Regions from separate parts of the Homo sapiens genome. Here region 1 is linked to region 2. Evidence: promoter capture Hi-C in 16 types of primary human blood cells and fetal thymus (Javierre and others, 2016). All regions are on one chromosome and are shown on one strand. Each heading gives the region's core, a stretch centred on a gene start or on the middle of the fragment in contact. The rest is flanking DNA. Distances are from core to core; before and after follow the strand shown. Region 1 has its middle 21 kb from the start of SLC35G1. Region 2 holds the start of FFAR4 (free fatty acid receptor 4).

Region 1 (6,472 bases), core at 2,537-5,036, 310 kb before region 2:
CTCTACTCCAGTCTTCTCTCTGAGCCCATATGTAATTTCCCTGGCATTTAACCATCTATCAGGTAGCTTCACTGGCACATCAGTTCAACAAGACCATAACAGAACTGACTGCTGTCTACACAGTCCTCCCCTTCCTCTATTTTCTATCCCAGTGGGGCCACTACTAGTCACTCAAGCTGGGGGCCATTTTAAACTCTGTATCTTCCTTCACCCTCCACATCCAGTCAGTCATAAGGCTTGTTAATTCTACCTTAAAACTATCTCTTCAATCTTTCCACTCTTTTAATTTCACAGCCACTATTCTGATTTAGGCTTCTGCCATCTCTGGATTGTTGCCACTGCCTCCTCATGGATCTTTCTGACTTTAATCTAGTTTTTCATACTGATCTAGCTTCCAAACCATGATTTAGAATGCAAATCTGATCCTATTGTTTTCTTGCTTAGATATCTTCAATGACTCTCCATTACCCATAGTAGTAATTACCGTAAGGTGTGCCCTAATTTGCTGCAGTGGATTAAGATGTGCCAAGGTTGGCCGTGGCTGGACAGGTGTGTTGCAGCCCAGTGTGCCCGATGTGTTTTCATTTTCCATGTATAGTATGAATGGAATGGTTAGAAAGGACTGGCTACAAGATTTGGTCCAAACTCCAGACTCCTGCCAACTTCTCTAGTCCATCTCTAGCACTAGTCCATCTTCATCGCCTCACACTCTATTGTCTGATGACTGGCATTTCCTGTGACGTGCCAGGCTGTTTCATGTCTGTATCATTGCACAGAGGGCAAGCTCTTTCATCAATCTGGGGAGAACTTCTCCCTTTCTCTACTTGGCAAACTTCTACACACCTTTTTAAAATTTAGTTCAACCTTTTCCCTCTTGAGTACACTCCTCTGAGTTTCTAGGCCATTCCAGCCTTTGTACTTTCATTGTAACTCATAATCTACCTCTATTATGGCACCATCATGCTTAAGCGCATCTTTTGGTTAACATATGTATCTCTCTTGCTAGTTTCAACTTCTTGAAGCTTTTCATCTTTGTTTTCCCAGTGCCTTGTGCAAAGGAGGATCGAAAAAAGGTTAGGTGAACCAAGTGCAATATAATAACTTACATCAGTCAAGATGGGCTAGTTTATGCTGCTGTGACAAGTAACTTAACACAATAAAACTTTAATTCTGAGTCATGCTATAATCAGTCAGGCTGATGGATGCTCCATATCAACTCATGCTTCTGTGGTCACCCTGGAGAATTATGAGTGCTTGTGTGTGTGTGTGTGTGTTTACATGCACGTGTGTGCACATATATTCATTTTTTAAGTCTGTGGTATAATATATATAAAATTTAGCAATTTAACCAAGGTGTACAATTCAGTGTCATTAAGTATATTCACAGTGTTATGCAACCATTACCACTATCTAGTTCCAGAGATATTTCATCACCTCAAATGGAAATCTTCGACTCATTAAACAGCCACTTCTTTTTAGTACATAATATAATGTAGCCAAATACCACCCAAACTAATAATTAAGCTTCTCCTTTCTTTTTTTTTTTCAAGCACTGGGATGTCTAGGGATAAGCTTTCATACTAGAATTAATCTCTCAATACCTTCACAAGTAACTGCTATAGTACATTTTGTTAAATGAATTAACTAAGCAATCATATTCTGTTGAAGCTACAAAATCAATTTTAAAAATAAGGAAATAGAAATGTGCGTGGAAGGATTTTCCTTAAAAGGAGCACTTGATGTAAACAAGCATCTCTTGTCACCCAGCAACTGCTCCTCTGGAGTTGTCTTTAATGGGGTAATTTCAGCTGGCAGCTGGTGCAACCTTGAAATGATCCTGTTTATTTTTCCTCCTCCCCGATGTGTAGAGGTCACTGCTGATAATAATGTGATTGCTATTCATTATTATCTGGATATGATAACATGGCAGAACTACCTCAAAATGCTCTTTTTGGAAATCTTGACATTGACTGTGCAGATACAGTTGGGTCACACTAGACATACATTTTGAAGTCAAAGATATTTACATTTTAGAAATAAAAATGACCCATATGGTGACATTTTGGGCTGTATGATTTACCAAAAACAGAAGAAAAATGACCTACATGGGTGGTGGATGGAGAACAAGCATTGTTATGCTTTTTCCATTTTGTAGCTGTTTAATTGAATAAATAAACATTCATTATTCAAACTGCCTGGGTTTGAATCTTGGCTCTGCCTCTGCCAGTTGTGTGTTCTTTGACATACTCATCTCTCTGTGCTGAACTTGAATCATCTACAAAAATAGGGCTAGTAATAGTATTTACCACACTACCATGTGAGGATAAAATGAGCTTATGTATGTAAAATGCTTAGAACAATGTCTGGCAGACCGTAAGTTCTATGTAACTGATGACTTTGAATGTTTCAGGATTGTGTTCCCTCTTGACAAATCGCTTCCTTTCCTACCCCTCTGACCTCCCCTGACTGAGTTAGCCACCCTCTGCCATGTGCCTCTCTGACATCCTTTCTTCCCCCAAGGCTAAACAACACTTAAACAGAATTGTGTCTTTAATTAACTGTGTCGTCCAAGAGCTAGAAGCTCTGAGTGGACAGAGACTTGGTCAGTCTTCATCATTAAATCCTCATGTGTTCGATGACTTACTCACCTGTGTGTGCCCTAAGCAAGGCAGAGTAAGGCTGCAGAAGTGGCCAACCTAATTTAATGGGGAACACAGAGAGGGCAGCAGTTTGCTGAGATTTACTAAGACTTTGCAGGAACTCTTGAGAAGAAAACTGCTGAGTCACAGGCATGCATTTTGAACAGAGAATAATCTTAACTTGAGATCTTGCAACATTGCTTGGGCACGTAGCTGTTACTGGCTGCCCCACCTGAAAACAAAGGCGTACAAATACTAATTATCTTAGCTTTAAACTCTTTCATTGGAAGTAATGGGACTCACTTGAACAATAATATAATATATAGTTTCAAGTAGCTACAAGGAAGATATTGAATGTTCCCACATTCACACAAAGAAATGATAGATGTTTGAGATGTGGATATGCTAATTACCATGACCTGATCGCTCTACATCATATGTATAAAAAATCACAATGTACCACCAAAATTTTTACAAATATTATATGCCATTAAAGAACATTTTTTAAAAGGTTAAAAAAGAAGAAAACAGTGGGTTTGTAGACAAAAATGTTAAGATTTTATGTAGTAATCTATGATTCTGGTTTCCAAACACAATGGACTTGGGAATATGAATATATTCATATTGTAAGGAAAGGGGGTGGGTGGACAGGGATGTAAGTAAGGACATACAGGGTGTGTCCCAGAAGCCAAGGGCAGGAATACAGGGTCTGCCTGTGAGGAAATGTCTGGAGCTGAGCCACCCTCTCAGTCTCTTATTTCTTTCTGGGGCCAGATGGTTCCTTGATGCTAGGGCTCCCTGACCATCTGTTTCTTTTTTCACTCTCTTCAGGCTGCCTCTCTTTACTTATCTATTGAGTGGAAGAAAAACCCCCAGCTCCTGGAGTTATGTGCACCTCACTTCCAGCTGCACGCTGAGAATAACTAGCCATTGCTTAGCCACTAAACTTGGCTTCTAGGGAGACTCTGATTGGTTAAAATAGAGCCAGATGTCTCTTTCCATCTTATTCATAATTGCCAAGGTTGTCTATTACAAACATGATTGCCAGGTGAGCAATTCACTCCGAACAGGCTCACTGAAGAACAGGCAGAGACTCCAGTATCTAAACAATGTAATTTAAAATGGTCCCCAATGTTATGCAAGGTTGAGTCAGGCAAATAACAGCATAGAGTACAGAGTTTGTCTTAGCCAACCAGAAACCACTGGGTTTCAATAGATTGTAGGAATTGTCCCTGTGATGGCATTAAAAACATACAAACCAACCAACCCTCTTGGATGGGGTGTTATTCAGATGTACTATGTAATTCTCTGAAAACAGGAATTCCTCCCTTTGTCTGGAATTCTCTTCCTCTCCTTATACATTAGACTGATCCCTAATTATTATACATCTTTCAGATCTTAGTTTGATGCACAAACTCAGGCATGCAAAATACAAAAATGTAGTTTTCTACAAATGAACTTAATTTCTCTGATGAGCCCCCTTTCTGATTTCAGTGGTAGCCATTTAATCTTAGTCAATCAGGGATTCCCACTTTCCCAGGGATTCCCAGTTTCCTAGTGTTGCACCAGAGTTTAGTATCTAGCACTGGTAATGGTGGTGGAGGTGGGTAGTAGGGGGGCAGCTGGAATTCCTGATTGGTGTTTACTGGCATCTCCTAGCAAGTCCTCATTCCCACCTGGTCTTTAGTTGTTAATACACATAATCCCAGCTGAGTCATTCTGTTATCAAACTGGACTTGGGTCTGCCTGCCTGGTATAGCAAAGCCAAGCACTGACATAAGGATTGCAAAAAAAGAAAGTGAAGCATTTATTGCAGGGTGCCAAGCAAGGAGAATTGGGAAGACCCAAACTCCCTTATGGCTTACAGGTAAAGGGTTTTAAAGGCAGGGAGGCCGAGGTTACAGGAGTCATTAATCAATATATGGTGGTTATACATTGGTTTGACCTAAAGAGGTGGGGTATCTTGAAGCATGGGGCTTACAGGTCATAGGTAGAGTCGAAGGTTCTCTGATATGTAGCTAGTTAAGGAAGGTGAGCTTTGTTTAAACATTTGGAATCAGCAGACAAGAATGTTAGCTCTGGCTTATGGATGTGACTTCCTCCAGGCCCCTTAGGAAGAACTTCAGAACAAAGAACGGCCATCTACATGCCAGTGGGTTCATTTGTCAGGTTTCTGAAGAACAACTCACGGACATATGTTAAGATGTTATTTTTTGGCCGGGCACGGTGGCTCACACCTGTAACCCCAGCACTTTGGGAGGCCAAGGCGAGCAGATCACGAGGTCAGGAGATGGAGACCATCCTGGCTAACACGGTGAAACCCTGTCTCTCTACTAAAAATACAATAAAAAATTAGCCGGGCGTGGTAAAGGGCGCGTGTAGTCCCAGCTACTAGGGTGGCTGAGGGAGGAGAATGGCGTGAACCCGGGAGGTGGAGCTTGCAGTGAGCTGAGATCACACCACTGCACTCCAGCCTGGATGACAGAGCAAGACTCCGTCTCAAAAAAAAAAAAAAAAAAAAAAGATGTTATTTTTTTATTTCTATAGGGAACAAAACATCTCATGACTCTAACTTCCTTGGCTATTTATTTATTACTTTCTTGCTTAGCAAGTTGCTTATGTACTTCTTAAGGCTAGCTAGATGCCTGGAATTTCTCTTGAAGGAACTCAGACTTTTTTTATTTCCAGGCTCAGGCTGGGGTGCAGCTGCAGGCCTCTAAGAGGAGTCCCTGTTCCATCTCAATCCCTCCTCCTGAACACTGCACTCTGTTGGGTCTGAGGCTCTCTTGACTCACCCGGGCACCTTCTTAGGAGCCTGGGATTCTTGGTGCTCCACATCATACCAGACCCACAGGAACTCTATGAGGTGTTTGCTGTCCTGCACCATGTCTGGACTGTATTTGTTCTGGGAGATTATCTATTGTCCCTATACTTAGCTGGGTATAGGGAACCCCCAGTGAAGATGTCTCAGGCCCAGGCCACCATAGCTATTTATAGTCTGCAGTCTAGCCGATAGTCCCTTCCCTGAGCTCAGAATCCCAAATAGAGTTTCTACTGTTTGCCTTTCTTGGGCTCTTCTGGAGAGAGGCAGCTTAAATCCCACCTGCATTTAGAACCCCAAACCTATCTAGGATTTCTGTTCTTCCCCTCTCCTATGATTAGGCATCCCAGGAGAGAAGCAGGGTGAAGTTTACTCTTAGAACCAAGCAGAGCCAATCTACTCACTAGCTCAGGCCAGAAAAACTTTATCTAGTCTGGGGGTAACAGGTAGAGGAGGGAGGTGGGATGGGATAAGGAAGTATGAAAGAGATGGACAAGGAATAAACAAAGAAATAAATGCAAGAATGAAAAAATAAGCTTTGCATAGCTTTCTATGGCTTTGTCTATCCATGCCAAAAGTCTGGAAGTTTCATTTAATGAATCTTTTACCCACTTGAGAAATCAGTGGTCACTGGGAGTCAGCAAGAATTCACTAGCTGAATTAATTTTATTCCTTTTTTGATGAATTATGAAGCTGGAAGATCACGGCAATGCTGGAGACAATTAAGACAATTACTGGATTTCAATGGAGCAAGTAGGGAAGCAGTGGTCACTGGGAGTCAGTCAGAATCCTTAGCATTATTAGTTCTTTTCGATGCATTCTTTCATTTAATCCCAAAACAACCCAATGACTGGAAGAAAATTAAATGTATCCTGAATGTCAACTACAGCTTTTGTACAGCTAAAGAAACTGAATCGCAGGCAGATATTATAATTTCTCTAAGACTACATGGGTGGTGTTTCCGTTAAAACCCTCTCAGCAGCAAATGACACTGGAATCCTACTCAAACTGA
Region 2 (6,953 bases), core at 4,165-6,664:
GTGCTCAGGACAAAATTGCCAAATGACTTTTCTAAGGAGACTCCCCTTGAGGATGGGGACATCTGTCCACAGGCACTGTGGAAATGCTGACCCTCCCCACACTGCCTGACTTATTTGCAAACACTGCCTGTTTGCAAATAAGTTCTAGCTGTTTGTTCCAGCTGTTTGCCTATCAGTCTCTCTGATGATTCTTCCTGCAGTACCTCTGGAGACCCTTGGTAGATCCTTGTTCCTGTGTCTCACCTCTGCCATCAACATGGAAGACTTCAAGATTATTTTAAGAACCTAGGAGTCCTAGTTGGATATTTCATCTTCTATCAGCTTCCCAGCAAAAAAGAGAGAAAATATTAATGCAAGAGATGCTTCCTTTCTTATATTTCAAAAGTATTCTCTAATCATAACAAAAGCAAGCAAACTGTGTTTGTTTCCTCAGACAATCCACACTCAGCAGAGACACATGAACGTTCACATGACTAGCCTGGTATTAAATTAGGGTAGGGTGGGGCAGTGGGATCAAGTGCCGCAAGGGAGTATAAACCCAAGGGTGACGGTATCCAGAGGGACCCAAAAGAGTGGGGCTAAATTCTGGTTCCATCTCTTGCAATTCTGTGACCTTAGGGATTTCCTCTTTTAGAATAAACAAAAGAATATGGGGTGGGGTGACTGTGAGGACCAAATTAGGCCAGAATCTAGGACCATCTGTGTGCTTCTCCTTGAAGAGAAGGAGGTGGATTTACGTGATTTGTGGCAGGGGCAAGAGGGGAAGGGTGCTTAGTAAATGTTTGCAGAATGAATGGGCAGCACATTCTGGCCAGGATAGACAGTCTTCTCCACCTGCCGATGTGGGTCACTGCCCAGCCAGGTCCACAGCACACACAGGCTGGAATCCTGTTGAAGCAGGGTGAGCTGACCTGGCTGAGATGTCAACGTTGCTAGGATGTGTTCGCCCTCTTAAAATGGCAGTCTGTTATTTTACAGCAATCAGAAGAATTATACTGTTTGAAGAATGTTTAAAATGTCTATGTTCAAAGATAAGGAAACTAATAATAGCTAGCAATTCTTATGTGCTTAACTGTGTATGTGCCAGGTGTTGGCCCATTTACTGAACATGAGTGCCCATGATGATCCGGTAAGGTTGGTTGATACTGTAATCATGCCCATTTTGCAGAAGAGGAAAGTGAGGTATTGAGAGGTTAGACAGCTTGGATTCTGTCATGAAGCTCCCGAATGGCAGAGATGGGATTTAAACAGAATGTTTGACTCCAAAGCCCACTCCAAATACCAAGTTGTCTCACATTTCTAGGATATTTATCACCTCATCTTCTCTTCAGTGAAGTTTTAGAGTCTGATTACCATGAACTACTGGGCACCCACAGCCCACATGGACAAGAGATTGAGTTTCTGTTTCAGGAAGGCTCTTGGGTCGGCAGAAGCTCTAAGGGGCAGTTTCCTTGGCCAGCGCTCCTTGAGGGGAGGGAGCCAGTATCTGCTTAGGCTTGGTTGATTCTCTCAGCGTGTGGTTTGGGTTAGGAAAATATCCCCCATCCCAAACCTCCATATTTAGTCTCTAAGTGGGATGGGGCAGACAGAATCCACAAGCAGAAAGCTGGGAATATGGGGATTGAGAAAACAAGCCTTTGCTAATTTTAAATGTGAGACTCAGTCAGTCTAGACCAGATCCTCCTGTTGCTTTTTTTTTTTTAATGACTACACTCCCCCTTTGTTTTTTTCTGTCTCTCATTCTTTTCAACTTATTTCTTCAACTGCTGAACCTATAATATTGGATGTTTTCTATGTATTCAGGCAACAACCCTTAGGAAATTGGGTTTTTTCTGTTTGTTGGGTTCCTGGGCAGGTAGGTGTGAAAGTGTGTGTGTGTGTGTGTGTGTGAGAGAGACAGAGACAGAGAGAGAGAGAGATGAGGTGGATGTGGCAGACAGGTAGGAAAGAAGACAAAGAAGATGGAGAGCCAGAAAGGATTGTCCCATTTTTTTTAATTTAAAAAAAATTTTTTTTTTTTGAGATTGAGTCTTGCTTTGCTGGCCAGGCTGGAGTGCAGTGGTATCATCTCAGCTCACTGCAACCTCCACCTCCTGGGTTCAAGCAATTCTCCTGCCTCAGCCTCCCTTGTAGCTGGGACTACAGGTGCATGCCACCACACCCAGCTAATTTTTGTATTTTTAGTAGAGATGGGGTTTCACCACGTTGGCCAGGCTTGTCTCCAATTCCTGACCTCAAGTGATCCGCCCACCTCAGCCTCCCAAAGTGCTGGAATTACAGGTGTGAGCCAGCATGCCCAGGGATTTTTTTTTTTTTTTAATTTCAAGCTTTCCCACCTCACCTCTACTAATTTCAGTGAGTAGGGCTCCTGTGGGTAACTAACTCACCTGGCCCCCAGTGCACACTGCAGCCTCATTCTCTCCCAGTGGCTTTGCCCAAATCCCTCTCCGAAGCTGCTTAAAACCAAGGAAGTGTTTCAACATTAAAACAAAGGAGGTCTGTGTGCCCAGCCATCACAACACAGACCTCCACGGAAGCACCTTACAGCACAACTGTGGCCACTCTGGAAGCACCACAGAGGGCTCTAACCACACCCAGATTCCCTAACAGTGGTGCGGTACTAAGTGGCCAAGACATGGAAGGCCCCTGCCTATGCCAAGGCCTTCTCACCCAAACAGTCACCTGTGTCCCTGTCAGCACACAATTTTAGTCTGGGCTCTGGCTGGGAAGTGACAAGAGTCTTATTTTTTAATGTCATTTGCCAATTAATTAGGGTTATACTTGAAATCACTGAAAAAAGGGAGAGGCACAAAATACACATCTGAAAACTTAAGATACCTTCAAGATACATTCTATCTGGTCTTTCATTCCCTGAACATCATTTTCTCCTGTAAGAAAGAAAATGAGGTGAAATACCTCAAGTTCTGTGAGAAATATAGAAGTACTGTGACTCACTGAGAGAATAACTTTTAAAAAAATCAAAGAAACTGATGGCAGAAGCCCAGCCCCCTCCTGATCCTTGCTTTTAGAGGCATCTGCGTGGCCCACCTTGATTCTCAGGTGTGTGTGGGCTAAGAACAAGCCTGTCCACTAAGCCAGAGCCCTTGGTCTGCCCATAAATGGCACCCACCAGCTCAGCTAATCCTGGCTTCTCTGGGCCCCACTTGAGTGGACATGGCCACAAGCTTGCATGTTATTTGATCAAGTGCCACAGGCTTGATGGGGCTCCTGCCTATTAGTCATTCAAGCTCATAAACAAACAAACACCCCACAATGTATTCCACACAAGCATTAGAAACAAGTGTTTAAGTTTGATTTATGTTTAAAAAAAAAAATCTCGCACAGGATACAGGAGGCAGACTCCATCCATCCTACCCCCAATAAAAGGGCTGTGTGAGAGACTGGTCTGGGAAAACCCCCAGAGAAGCTCCACCTCTCTGTCTCAGGCTCTGGAGGGTCACACAGTCAGGGGGTGTCCCTGGTGGGCTGTGTGCATCTCCATAACCAAGCCTTCCCCTGGTGACATGTCATTTCTCCCTCCCTACTCCCCTCTCTGACCACTTCGAAGGTCCCTCTTTGGGACCGTGATTCCTGTTTGTGCCACGATTACTCAGGGCGCCCCATATTCACTCCTAGGTGGAGAGGGAGCTTAAGGGTAGGGGGTTCCAGGCCGGAAAACCAGTGACCCCGGCAGGGAAGGGGAGGCCAAGAACCCAGCCACGGGCAGAAGCTCCTGGAGGCTGAGCCCCCAGCGCACAGACCTAAGTCCTTTCTCTATCTCTCTCCGCGAGGCATGGAGAACCAAACACACTGGGAAGACAGCCAGACGGCGGCCACTGTCCTCCACCGTGACTCCGCGTCTAGATTCCCTCTTCCGTGTGGATCCCGGCGCACGAACCCTGCAACCACCGGGCAAAGCGGCAAGAGAAAAAGACCCGAGCTCGGGATTCCGGACCGCGGGACTTGAGGGGAACAGAGCCAATGTCCTGCACTATCCGCAGAACCTTATTCCGATCATGGTCACTCCCACCCCTATGAGCTAATAATGACAACTATTGACCCGCTATGTAAAACAGAGCTCGTCGGTCCAGCCTCTGTAATCTGCACATTTCAGGCGCCCAGGACACCTCGAAGGTCTAGTGTAATCCTTCCGTTTTGCAGCTGAAAAAACTGAAGACCCCGGAAGGGAATTCTGTCACAAGTCCCCTAAAGACAGCATTGCATCTGGGGTCCCCGGGTCTCACATGCCTGTCCGCGCGCTTTCAAAGCAGGACCATAACCCAACCCTGGACAGGAGCCCAACTCCTCCTTGAATTACGGGTAAACTTCTGGAAGGAGCCCATCTCCTCCTCGAATTACGGATAAAATACTCTGGGCAAGTTATTATACACTTCGGTGTGCCTCTGGTTCTCATCTGTGAAATGGGTGTGATAATAACAGTATTGTAGCACCTGGCGAGGAATCATGATTCAATACAAAGTGTTTGGCCACCCTGCACCCCCAAAGTTCCGTCTCGCTCCTAAACTACTCGTTAATTAACCTCGCAACAGTCATTGCATTTTGCAAGAATTTGGGGGACTCCACTTACATCATTTAGGAGGGCGTGTGCACAGCGTTGTAGTGAGATTTAAGAGATTAAACTTCACAGCCATGGGCACAAGATTTGGCACAACGATTAAGTGCAATAAATGGCTATTGTTGTTCTTGATCATCCTCATCCCAGCTTCCGTCGGGGCCCCGCTTCCCAGCCTGCGCAGGACACCTGCCCGGCACACACAGAGGGGCGCTCACCTGGTCGGCGCCGGGGAGCCGTTGCGGGACGACTCGGAAGAAGACGCAGAGAGGCAGAGCGGCGACCGCCGAATAGCCCCAGATGAGCGCCAGCAGCACTGCCCGCGCCCGCCGCCCAGGACCCCGCACGCCGCGCTGCAGGTGCACGATGCACACCATGCGCTCCAGGCTGACCGCGGCCAGCGTGAGGATGGTGACGCTGCCGCTCAGGGTCATCACGTAGAAGAGCAGGTGGCAGGCAACGGGGCCCAGCAGCCAGGCCTCAGTCCAGCGCACGGCCAGCACCAGAGGGATAGCGCTGATGAAGAGCAGGTCCGCGCAGAAGAGGTTGAGTACCAGGCAGGCAGTCGCGCCGCGGCGTCGTCGGCGCGCCACCAGCACCAGGGCGCACACGTTGCCCAGCAGCGACACTGCAAAGATGAGCACCAGCACGGTTGTCTCCACCGCGGCCAGCACCAGCCGGTGGTCGCCCTTGACGTCGGAGAAGAAGGGAAAGCGGGTGCGGTTGGCTTGCTCCAGGCTGCGCAAGGGCGCGTCGCCCGCTGCCCGCGCGCATTCAGGGGACATTCCCGGCGCCTGGCGGCCCGCAGCGGTCTGAGAGAGTGCTCATCTGGGAGGCGACTGAGTGCCAAGGCGGGGAAAGAGGGAGGGAGGCGGTTGCGACATCTCGCCTCTGGCCCCCTCCCTTCTGAGGAGCGCCAGCACTGGGTGCAGGGAGCTGCACCCGGGGCGCGCGGGAACCAGGAAGTGCCCGGCAACACTGGCCGCGAACACCGCAGCTGGCCGGGGAGGTGGCGGCCAAGGCGGAAGCCTCGTGCCCTCTGGCCCTTTGAAAGTGTATCCAGAAGCCAGAAAACTCACTTAGCGAATTCCTCGAGCCCCCGCAGGGCCTGCCCAACCTCCTTTATTTTTCAGGGACACTGGATGTGCGAAGCCTTTTGTGAACGGATTTAGCTAAAATTGATTTAAAAGGGTCAGAGCTGGCCTTTGGAGATTATTTTGGCCTGTGTCGTTCAGGCTTTACTAAAGAAACTCCATGGGTCTGGAGGTAGATCCTAAAACAACTTGTAATGAGTCCATATTTTTTGTGGGGGAGAGAGGGAGTGGAGATCTTTTATCACTACTTAATAACAGGTCTTTAGGTGGATTATCTACTCCCTCTACCCCAGATTTTTAATCTATAAAATGGGAATAATAATACCCCATTAGGTTATTGTGAGGCTCACCTAGAGTTTTGCACACTTGGCACACAGTAATTACTCGTTAAATGTTATCAAATATTAGTTATTGTAACTAAAATGCATATACATTTTGCATTCTGAACAATGACATAAATGCTTTCTTATAAAAAGAGTGAGTCCTTCCAAAATTTTTAATAAACTTGCCATCCAAGGAAGACAGATATTTCAAGGCTGGCAGATTCACACACAAGCTATGAATGTGCCCCAGGTGCCACAGTTTGAGGAGCACTGGGCAATCCAGTCCCGTTAGAGATAAGGAAACTGAGGCCCAGCCAGAGTGACTTGTCTAAGCTGTCCTCTGGTTAGTAATGAAAGCCAGTCACCTGTCCCCGTCCCACACATTTCCATCACACCACTGCAGTCTCGTTTTCTGTAAATGAGGAAGCTGGAGATGGAAAAGTATGCCTGTGGCCTAAGATCCAGTGGCCACTTCCCCAACCAGCCACCCTCCTGCCACCCACACCTTCACCCCCTCTTCCCTCTGCCATATTACCAGGCCTCTCCCAGTTGCCCACTCTGTCTTCTAATTGTCTTTCTTAAGGTTGGGTCTTAAGAAATCTAAGCACTGACTGGGCACAGTGGCTCATGCTTGTAATCTCAGCACTTTGGGAGGCCAAGGCGGGTGGATCACTTGAGGTCGGGAGCTCCAGACCAGCCATGGCCAACGTGGTGAAACCCCGTCTCTACTAAAAATACAAAAATTAGCTGGGCATGGTGGCAGGTACCTGTAATCCCAGCTACTTGGAAGGCTGAGGCAGGAGAATTGCTTGAAACCGGGAGGTGGAGGTTGCGGTGAGCCGAGATCAGGCCACTGCGCTCCATCCTGGGCCACACAGCGAGACACCATCTTAAAAAGAAAGAAAGAAAGAAAGAAACCTGAGTACTTCAGGCTGGTTGCGCCAGAGTCTGAAGTACTGTCTG

Evidence for each region. The method cuts DNA at HindIII sites, captures the fragments that hold promoters and counts their contacts. A CHiCAGO score of 5 or more calls a contact.
Region 1: a contact is called between a fragment that was not itself captured here and the fragment with the promoter of FFAR4 in region 2, in 2 of 17 cell types (total B cells and neutrophils). The highest score is 6.8, in total B cells.

What each region holds. Positions count from the first base shown.
Region 1 is chr10:93,869,880-93,876,351 of GRCh38, reverse strand. No RefSeq gene overlaps it. Among named protein-coding and RNA genes, the nearest start is that of SLC35G1, 21 kb to the left of the region's middle. The HindIII fragment of the contact is 4,424 bases long and covers 1,575-5,998 here.
Region 2 is chr10:93,565,126-93,572,078 of GRCh38, reverse strand. It overlaps FFAR4 (free fatty acid receptor 4), which reads right to left and starts at 5,414. Exons shown (of 3, transcript NM_001195755.2): 1 at 4,792-5,414. The coding sequence starts at 5,358. RefSeq lists an enhancer at 5,174-6,012. The HindIII fragment of the contact is 8,015 bases long and covers 3,188-6,953 here.